2 separate regions of the Homo sapiens genome follow, and region 1 is linked to region 2. Evidence: promoter capture Hi-C in human tissues and cell types (Jung and others, 2019). All regions are on one chromosome and are shown on one strand. The core of a region is centred on a gene start or on the middle of the fragment in contact, and the rest is flanking DNA. Distances in the headings are between cores, read along the strand shown.

What was found. Contacts are between HindIII fragments. The study calls those that stand out against the background at their distance.
Region 1: a contact is called between a fragment that was not itself captured here and the fragment with the promoter of CP in region 2, in 1 of the 25 tissues and cell types used here (spleen).

The regions. Positions count from the first base shown.
Region 1 is chr3:149,280,453-149,285,230 of GRCh38, forward strand. TM4SF18-AS1 (TM4SF18 antisense RNA 1) reads left to right here and starts at 4,327. Exons shown (of 2, transcript NR_186251.1): 1 at 4,327-4,730. The HindIII fragment of the contact is 4,643 bases long and covers 571-4,778 here.
Region 2 is chr3:149,218,550-149,223,514 of GRCh38, forward strand. CP (ceruloplasmin) reads right to left here and starts at 3,280. Exons shown (of 19, transcript NM_000096.4): 1 at 3,098-3,280. The coding sequence starts at 3,243. The HindIII fragment of the contact is 15,133 bases long and covers 1-4,965 here.

The sequences.
Region 1 (4,778 bases), core at 1,642-4,141, 62 kb after region 2:
TAAGAGACCAAAAACTCAAAAGGTCAAGTAACTTGCTGTAGAATGCACATTTCCAAATTGTAGTGCCAGTAGTCAGCTATAGATTACTGGATTCCAAATAAAATTTTCTGTTCTTTTCATACTACCTGTAATAGCAGTGGCTTTAATAGTTTAAGTGTGTAGACTTCTATATTACCTACAAATGCTCAGTTTTTCTCAGAGTATATGGCTCTAATTATATCTTCCAACAAAGCTGATAAATTAGATATAAATGATGTTGGGGCAAGATGGGGAGTTTAAAGACACCATGGAGGATGTCAGTCACTGTTAGATCCATTTCTATTCTTTGTATTACTTCTACCAATAACCACCATTTGTTGAAAGTCAGCTCTTCCTTAGCCCTTTTGTAAATATTAGCTCTAATTGTGCCACCAACTCTGAAAGGGAAGCTTATTAAGTTCTCTTTTATAGATAAGGAAACTGGAACTTGGAGATTTTAAACAACTAACCAAAACAACTAAATGTTATTGCCAGAATTTAAATCCAGGACTTAAAGCCTGGTGGATGCCCTACCATTAAACTCCTTGCCTTATAATCAAGGTTATTCTATGGGAAACTATATACTAGATTAGAAAAATTTGAATAAGTAGAGCAGCTAGCAGCTGGGGCAGAGAGAGTTCCACTTGGGCTGGAGCTCTGAGTCCTTCGCAGTTTAAGGCTATGCAAATTACAAGCTTTCGCAGTATGGGGTAGACTACATAAGACACTGGAGGCCTACAAAGCAAGGCACAGAAGGGAATAGTGGGAAGACACTGAACAGTAAGAAAGAGAAAAGCAGCCCCCCAACATCCAGGAGCTGTCCTGGTACTAGTGGCTAAGCTTTGCCCAACTAGGAGCTGGCCTGGCACTCACAGCTAGGCCCTGGTGTCCTCCTCCTTGGCATAAACAATCTCCCAGAACACCAACATCAGACAGCACCACTCTGTGACCCTAATGGAGCCAGAAGAAAAACAATACCACTCCAGAAAATGTCTGAATATTGTTGATGAAAAGAGTCAAACTCCGTAAAATATTTGAAGACATTTATTCTGAACCAAATATGAGTAACCATGGCCTGTGACACAACCCTTAGGAGGACCTGAGAACATGTGCCCAAGGTGGTTGGGGTGCAGCTTGGTTTTATACCATTTTACGGAGGCATGAGACATCAATCAAATACATTTAAGAAATACATTGGTTTGGTCAGAAAGGCGGGACAATGCCGAGTGGGGGCTTCCAGGCTATAAGTAAATTTAAACATTTTCTGGTTGACAATTGGTTGAATTTGTATAAAGACCTTGGATCAACAGAAAGGCAGGTCTGGGTTAAGATAAAGAATTGTGGAGACCCAAGTTATTTACAGAGGAAGCTTTTAGGTAGTAGGCTTCAGAAACAATAGGTTGTAAAAATGTTTCTTATCAGACTTAAAGTCTGTGTTGGTGTTAATGTTGAGAGGTGTAATGAGGCATGTCCAACCCCCGCTGCCCTTCAAGGCCTGAAACAGTCTCCAGGTAAAATTTTAAAAGAGCCTTGGCTGAGGAGGAAGTCCTTTCAGATGGTTGGGGGACCTTAGAATTTTATTTTTGGTTTACAGTATACATGAGAAACATGAACATTCTCCAAATCTCAAAAATAACCACACATTCCCTGACTATATTTTATGGCTCTAGCTTTGTTTTACTCTTTACCAATTATAGCTTTAGCTTTATTTCATTCTTCTTTTCTTATAGATTACATTTATTAAGATACCCAATCATAAATTTCCCCCACTTTCTCACTGCCTTTGATCCAGAGCAAAGCCCTGCTTCCTTAAACATCCCCCACAAATCACCTAACACAAACCCCAATCATACAATAAGTTCTTTTTAACACTGCTTTTTTTTTCTGAGATACCCCAAGGTTCTGTATCATGTATGTTCTCTCTCAATGCGTTAAGCAACAAACACAACTTGTTCATCTACAGATGTGTTCCTGTGGTTTAGTTGGAGTGCACTGATACTAAAGTCCATGATGTAGGTCAGGGAATCTGTTTCATGGCTTAAAATAGTGCCAACATGACAAAAACTCAGAAATGTGTGTCTCTGGCTTGAACCTCTCTGCCTAACAGTATATACAATAATCTATGCCACATTTCCACTTAGATGGTTAATATAGCAACTTCTTAAATGTTTATGCACAGAAAAATCATCTGGAGATTTTTTTAAAAGGAAAAATCTGTATTCTATAAGTCTGGGTGGGTCTGAAATTCTGCATTTCCTCACTGGCTCGCAGATGATGCCAGTGCTGCAGGTCCATGAACCACACTTTGAGAAGCAAGAGTCTAATGAACTCGTCAAATTCAACATGCCCAAATACCAACCCCTAAGACTTCCAGTTTCAGCTCCAGCATGTAAAGAGCATGGAAGTCATAATCCTTACAACAAGAGAAACTGGACAAAGAAAATCAACAGCTTTTCTTAAACCCATCAGATAATGGAGTTTGTAGGGCAAATCCCCATATCTGAAGAGACAGACAATCTAGAGTCACAGAAGAAATATGCTTACCTAGAGCAGAAGCCACTGGCACAATAAACTGGTAATTTTAACAATTGCTGGAGGCTGAGTTTGGACTGGATAAAAGTCAGCTTAATTAAAAGGCTAACATCCAAGATGTGTGTGTGTGTGTGTATGTGTGCATGTGTGCATGTTTGAAAGGCCTTCATGTTTTTGGTTTTGTTTGTTGGTTTGTTTTTCTCTCCTAAGACCTTGTCTTTTGGAGCAAAAGTTTATTTTTTTTCTTTTTTTTTCTCAGTTAACTGAATTCTGTTTTCACCTGATTTTTTTTTTTTTTTTTTTACTAAACTAGTTATTGCAACAGAATCTACTCTAGGGATTTTAAGGAAGAGTGTAGTTTAATTTTATGTTTAATTTGGCTCAAAGAAAAATAAAAGTGTCTCCTTCTAGCACTGCCAGATTTTTTTCTCTTTCTATTTTATAACGTAAATTTTGCTATTTGATTTTCACCTGAGTTGTTTCCTTTAATGTGAAAATTTTAGACTATTTAGCTGACAACTGCCTAGGGCTATGAAACAGGTTATCGAGAAACCGAAAGTCTAAGATAGGAAAAAAAAGGAGGGAGTCTTTGTAAATCTATAAAATGTACTGTAAACAACCAATGGGTTCACTTTGCCAAGACAGACTGATTTATCAAGATAGGAGAATTGCAATGGAGAAAGAGTAATTCACCCAGAGCCATTGTGCGGGAGACTGGAGTTTTATTATTACTCAAATCGATCTCCCTGAGCCTTTGGGGATCAGAGTTTTTAAATATAATTTGGCAGGTAGGGGCTTGGAAAGTAGGGAGTGTTGATTGGTCAAGTTGGAGATGGTGAGAGGTGACAGCGTGCTGGCAGTCCTCGCAGCCCTCACTCGCTCTTGGCGCCTCCTCTGCCTGGGTTCCCACTTTGGCAGCACTTGAGGAGCCATTCAGCCCGCCGCTGCACTGTGGTAGCCCCTTTCTGGGCTGGCCAAGGCCAGAGCCGGCTCCCTCAGCTTGCAGGGAGGTGTGGAGGGAGAGGCGCGGGTGGGAACCCTGGCTGTGCGTGGTGCTTGTGGGCCAGCACGAGTTTCCGGTGGGTGTGGGCTCGGTGGGCCCCACACTGGGAGCAGCCGGCAGGCCCCACCGGTCCCGGGCAGTGAGGGGTCTTAACACCTGGGCCAGCAGCTGCTGCGCTCAATTTCTCACCGGGCCTTAGCTGCCTTCCCTCGGGGCAGGGCTCTGGACCTGCAGCCCGCCATGCCTGAGCTCCCCCCACCCCCCTGCGCCCCGTGGGCTCCTGTGCGGCCCGAGCCTCCCGACGAGCGCCACCCCCTGCTCCACAGCACCCAGTCCCATCGACCACCCAAGGGCTGAGGAGTGTGGGCGCAGGGCACAGGACTGGCAGGCAGCTCCACCTGCGGCCCTGGTGCGGGATCCACCGGGTGAAGCCAGCTGGGCTCCTGAGTCTGGTGGGGACTTGGAGAACCTTTATGTCTAGCTAGGGGATTGTAAATACACCAATCAGCACTCTGTATCTAGCTCAAGGTTTGTAAACACACCAATCAGCACCCTGTGTCTAACTCAGGGTTTGTGAATGCACCAATCGACACTCTGTATCTAGCTACTCTGGTGGGGACTTGGAGAACCTTTATGTCTAGCTCAGGGATTGTAAACTCACCAATCAGCGCCCTGTCAAAACAGACCACTCGGCTCTCTGTAAAATGGACCAATCAGCAGGATGTGGGTGGGGCCAGATAAGAAAATAAAAGCAGGCTGCCTGAGCCAGCAGTGGCAACCTGCTTGGGTCCCTTTCCACACCGCGGAAGCTTTGTTCTTTTGCTCTTTGCAATAAATCTTGCTGCTGCTCACTCTTTGGGTCCACACTGCCTTTATGAGCTGTAACACCGCGAAGGTCCACAGCTTCACTCCTGAGCCAGCGAGACCACGAACCCCACCAGAAGGAAGAATCTGTGAACACATCCGAACATCAGAAGGAACAAACTCTAGACATGCCGCCTTTAAGAACTGCAACACTCACTGCGAGTGTCCGCGGCTTCATTCTTGAAGTCAGTGAGACGAAGAACCCACCAATTCCAGACACATTTTGGCGACCTAGATGGGACAATCGCCTATCACCGAGTGGTGAGACCATCGCCTATAGCTGAGCGGCGAGACAATCACCTATCGCCAAGCAGTGAGTACCATCGGACCCCTTTCGCTTGCTATTCTGTCCTGTCTTTGC
Region 2 (4,965 bases), core at 2,030-4,529:
TTCAGTTGCACTAACCCTGCATATAATCCCCTCAGGTGACTTTTCTATCTTATTCTGTTACCTGATTTGTTCTATAGCATGAATCTCTCCACATGAGGAGCAAGGAAAAGTTTTTACAATACAGTCTATGATTTTTCCTATCTTCCTATGTATCTTTTATTTACTCATTTAAACTTATTCAGAAATATTTATTTAGTGTCTCCTATATTCTAGGTACTAGTGACCAAGCACTAGTACTTGCATATGCATATACTAGTACTCTCAATGCATATTTTCCTGTTCATCATCCCAGACCTTCAAGATCAACATTCAGCTTAAACTCGATTCTTTACCTAAAATTCATATTACACTCTTTCACATCTTATTCTTCAGCCCATTTATTTCCACTCCTTTTTAGTCATCATACGATAAGAAGTGCCAACCATGTCTTGTGATACTCCATCATCCTTCACTGACTGGGCTAAACATGCTGCAAATCTGGGACAAAGAAGGGACCAAAAGGTTGCTATCTGCACACATCTATGCAAAAAGTTTAGCATAGTATTGGCAAAATTGCTGAAGCTGTATTCAAAATTCACTGGTAAGATATATGGGGGAAAAAAATCACAGAGAAAGCAGTCCCACCTAGAGTTTGCAAAACTGTAGCATATTGTTGAAGCCAGAGGAGATGTTAAAGTCACAGGACAATAACAAAAAGAGAGGTGGACTTTGCAACTAGAAGATGCTCCATTTTTCCTTTTAAGGAGCCTTAAGTATCTCTATTAAGTATACTTTTTAAGTAACTGATATGGTTTGGCTGTGTCCCCACCCAAATCTCACCTTGAATTGTAATAATCCCCACATGTCAAGGGAGGGGGCCAGGTGGAGGTAACTGAATCATGGATGTGGTTTCCCCCATATTGTTCTCATGGTAGTGAATAAGTCTCATGAGATCTGATGGTTTTATAAATGAGAGTTCCCCTGCACAAGCTCTTTCTTGGCTGCTGCCATGTAAGACGTGCCTTTGCTCCTCCTTTGCCTTCTGCCATGATTGTGAGGCCTTCCCAGCCATGTGGAACTGTAAGTTCATTAAACCTCTTTTTCTTTATAAATTACCCAGTCTTGAGTATGTCTTTATTAGCAGTGTAAGAACAGACTAATACAGTAAATTGGTACCTGGAGTGGGGCACTACTGTAAAGGTACCCAAAAATGTGAAAGTGACTTTGGAATTGGGTAGCAGGCAGAGGCTGGAATAGTTTGGAGGGCTCAGAAGAAGATAGCAAGATGTGGGAAAGTTTGGAACTTCCTAGAGACTTGGAGGGCTCAGATGACAGGAAGGTATGGGAAAGTTTGCAATGTAAGACATGCCTTTGCTCCTCCTTTGCCTTCCACCATGATTGTGAGGCCTCCCCAGTCATGTGGAACTGTGAGTCCATTAAACCTCTTTTTCTTTATAAATTACTCAGTCTTGAGTATGTCTCTATTAGCAGCATAAGAAGAGACTAATATAGTCACAATGGGGTAAACAGGCTTATACTCATTGGGTAGCTTCCCTGGCACAGACAGGCCACAGGAGTAATTAAAAACAAAGGAATTTCCTCCGCCCCCATTCACCAAATTCTAAACAAACTCCTTCACTCTTCTACTCCCTGATTTTTAGAATTAAAGATTTTTTTTTGAAGCATATTCAGGGCAATGTCTTGCACTTAGTTTATGCCTGATAAAGCTGATTTGATTTTTGATCACGAACAATGGCAGAGTGGTGGTGAGTGGGGGCATAGAGAAGGATAGTATTTTTATTTTTTTAATGTGTCTGACTTTTTCCTTGGAAATAAAAACCACATATAATTTATATTATATTTAATCAAGAAAATACTGAATCCATGCAAAATAATGTTTCTGGTGAAGCTGTAAAAATATGTCATATTCCTTAGAAGATAATACCACCTTAAAACCAGGTTAAAAAAGAAATAATTACAAGATGTATTAGTTTTATTTACAACCACTTATCTTCAGGTCAGAAACTTTCTTTATTGTATATTATTAAATTCATAATATAATAATTGGATATTAGTATCTGTTATGTATTTATTTTTATGGTGAAAAATTTCAACTTTACATAATGTTAAAGAAAATAGTATATACTCATCAATAAGATTCAATAATTACAAACTTCGGCATCCTTATTTAGCTGTTTTTTAAAGATATAATCTTGGCAGCTGATGGTCATTGGGCTTGTTTGTGTTTTATTACCACTGAAATACATTTTAATGTAGTGAATATTGATTTTGAATTCCAAGTTCCCATTTGGTGGTTAATGTTTAATTAACATCATTAAAAGTGAAGACCTCAGTATAGATAAACTTCTGTACAAAAAACTTCAAGGAGAACTAAACTTTTTGTTTTACTGTGTAGTGAATATTGCTTTCAATAAGGGGATTTTCCAACTGAAAAATGAAGACATTTAAGTTACATGGAGCTTTTTGAGGACCATCCTAATAAGTACCTGACATTTTTTTATGCACATATGTGCCAAGCATTGTACTAAGAGCTTTACATGCACCCGCTCTTTAAATAACCCTATGAGCTATGCTTATTATCCTCATTTTACAAATTAGGACCCTGAAGCTGTGAAAGATTAACCTACTTAACTGTCTGGAGTCTCTCAATAAATATCAGGCAGGATCTTATTTGCTAAAATTGTATTTTATTTCTATAAGTGATGTTTTGAAAGATATAAAAAAATTTTATGCCTATCATGAATAACCATTAAATGGTGCAATAAACATAACATTGTATACAGTAATTGTTTAAATGAAAGAACTTCTGCATAAACACATAAAAAGACAGATTCCTAATCGGAGATGCAGTTACGACCATGGGAGGTAGTAAGATGTGAACACAGATCCCCAGGAACAACAGGAAAGAAGCAGGGTAGTCCACCAAATAAAAAATATACAGGAATATAAAGGAGATTGATTCAAGTGTCTTGGGTTTCAAGCCCACATTTTGCAGTTTCTGTATATAAGAAATTTTAAAAATATTTCATCTTATTGGCTCTATCCTTTAAAAATAACTTAAAATTTTGGTCTATAAACAATAAAAATAGTGACTTACGTGTCAACAGAAATAAGTTTCTTTTCCCCATGGTCAGAGGCATAATCCCAAGTCGTTTCAATAATTCCAATGTAATAATGCTTTTCTTTCGCCCAGGCTGGGGTACTACATAAAAACAGAAAAATACCAAGTATCAAAATCTTCATTTTTTTCCCCTTCTTGGAGCCTGAGAAGAAATGAAGTAAAATCAGGAGCAGGCAATTTTATAAATAAGACTTTCTTCCTTATTTGCTTGATTGACACAATTTAGTGTTGCACAAGAGTAAATTGTTTCATTAAAGCAAATATTTTCCAATTCAGTTAAGTTCTCGTAAACCACCAAAAAAACAGTTCTTGGTTGCCAGGCTTCTCTGACTGAAAATAAAAAGTCAACAGTTATTGTTGGAGGCATTAGGGTGTGCATAACTCTGTGCCTTTTTCCATTCATTGTGTAAATTCCAGGAGGGCAGAGAACGTGTCTAAATGCTCCCTTTGTTCCTCTGACAATATGTCACAGCACAGTGTCCTGCAAACAGTGCACTTTTAGTAAATCAGGATAAGAATTATGTAAAATGAATCAAAACATGTAGCTTTTTACTACAGTCATTCTTAATGACAGGGATACGTTCTGAGAAATGCATTGTTAGGCTATTTTGTCATTGTGTGACTATCACAGAGTGTACTTACACAGACTTATATGATATAGCCTACTATACATCTAGGTAGGCTATATGGTATACCTATTGCTCCTAGGCTACAAACCTGTACAGTCTATAACTATGCTGAATGCTATAGACAATTGTAACACAATGATATTTCTGTATCTATACATATGCAAACATAGAAAATGTACAGTAAAAATATGTTATTATAATCTTATGGGACCACCATCACATATGCAGTTTGTCATTTACTCAAACATTATTATGTGGTGCATGACTATTTCTAAAAGTCTAACAAATGATTAATTGCAGCTTTATGATATGAAACATGATATCTAGCATGCCAAATTTAAGTAAACAAAAATAAGAATTTAATTTGGAAGAATTTATCTGTTTTATGAGCTTGGACCAAATCTGCATAAAAACTTTACCAGATCATTCTGTATTGCTATATGCAAATAACTAGCAGAGCCTAACAGGGGCTAATAACTTTGTTTTAATCATCAAATAAACAAACCATAACTAAACCTGTCTTCAGAGGCAAAGATTAGTCTTAGTAAATAGAAAGTACCCCAGTTTATCATTAGACTGAAATTTTTCTCTTTGAAGTGGATATGAATTTTAAGGTGGAAGACTTTTTCTTAAAACCCTGTTTTTAGTCAGGAAGTATATGTCTAAAAGTATGAAATGGCTTTTTTTTTTAGCTGAAGAAAATCCTGATAACAGTTGACACTTTGTGTTAGTATAATTTTTTTTCTCTCAAATACCTCAAAACGTTGTGTATTTGCTGAAGGCCACTTGTTGAAATAGATTGGTATAGAAGAAAGCATGCGATATTTGAACAATTCCTTCATTTAGGAAATATTATTGAATGAGCCAAGTTCTGTTCTACTCACTGGGAATACAGCAGTCTGTGCCAAGTTCTGTTCTACTCACTGGGAATACCGCAGAGAACAAAACACCTACCATCATGCAACTTACATTCTACTTGGGGAAACTGAAAATATAAAAATGAAAAATGAAATACACAATATTAGTGGTGAATGCTATGGAGAAAAATAAAGCAGAGAAGGAGAATAAGGAGTGCTAGGGAAAAATCTGATGCTACCAAATGACCTCAAGTAAGATACTTCAGCCCAGCTTCAGTTTCCTCATCTGAAAATCTCAGGTTAATTGAAATGACCTATGTTAAGGCAGACAGTGGAGGAGCTTCTCTCACCAGCTGGT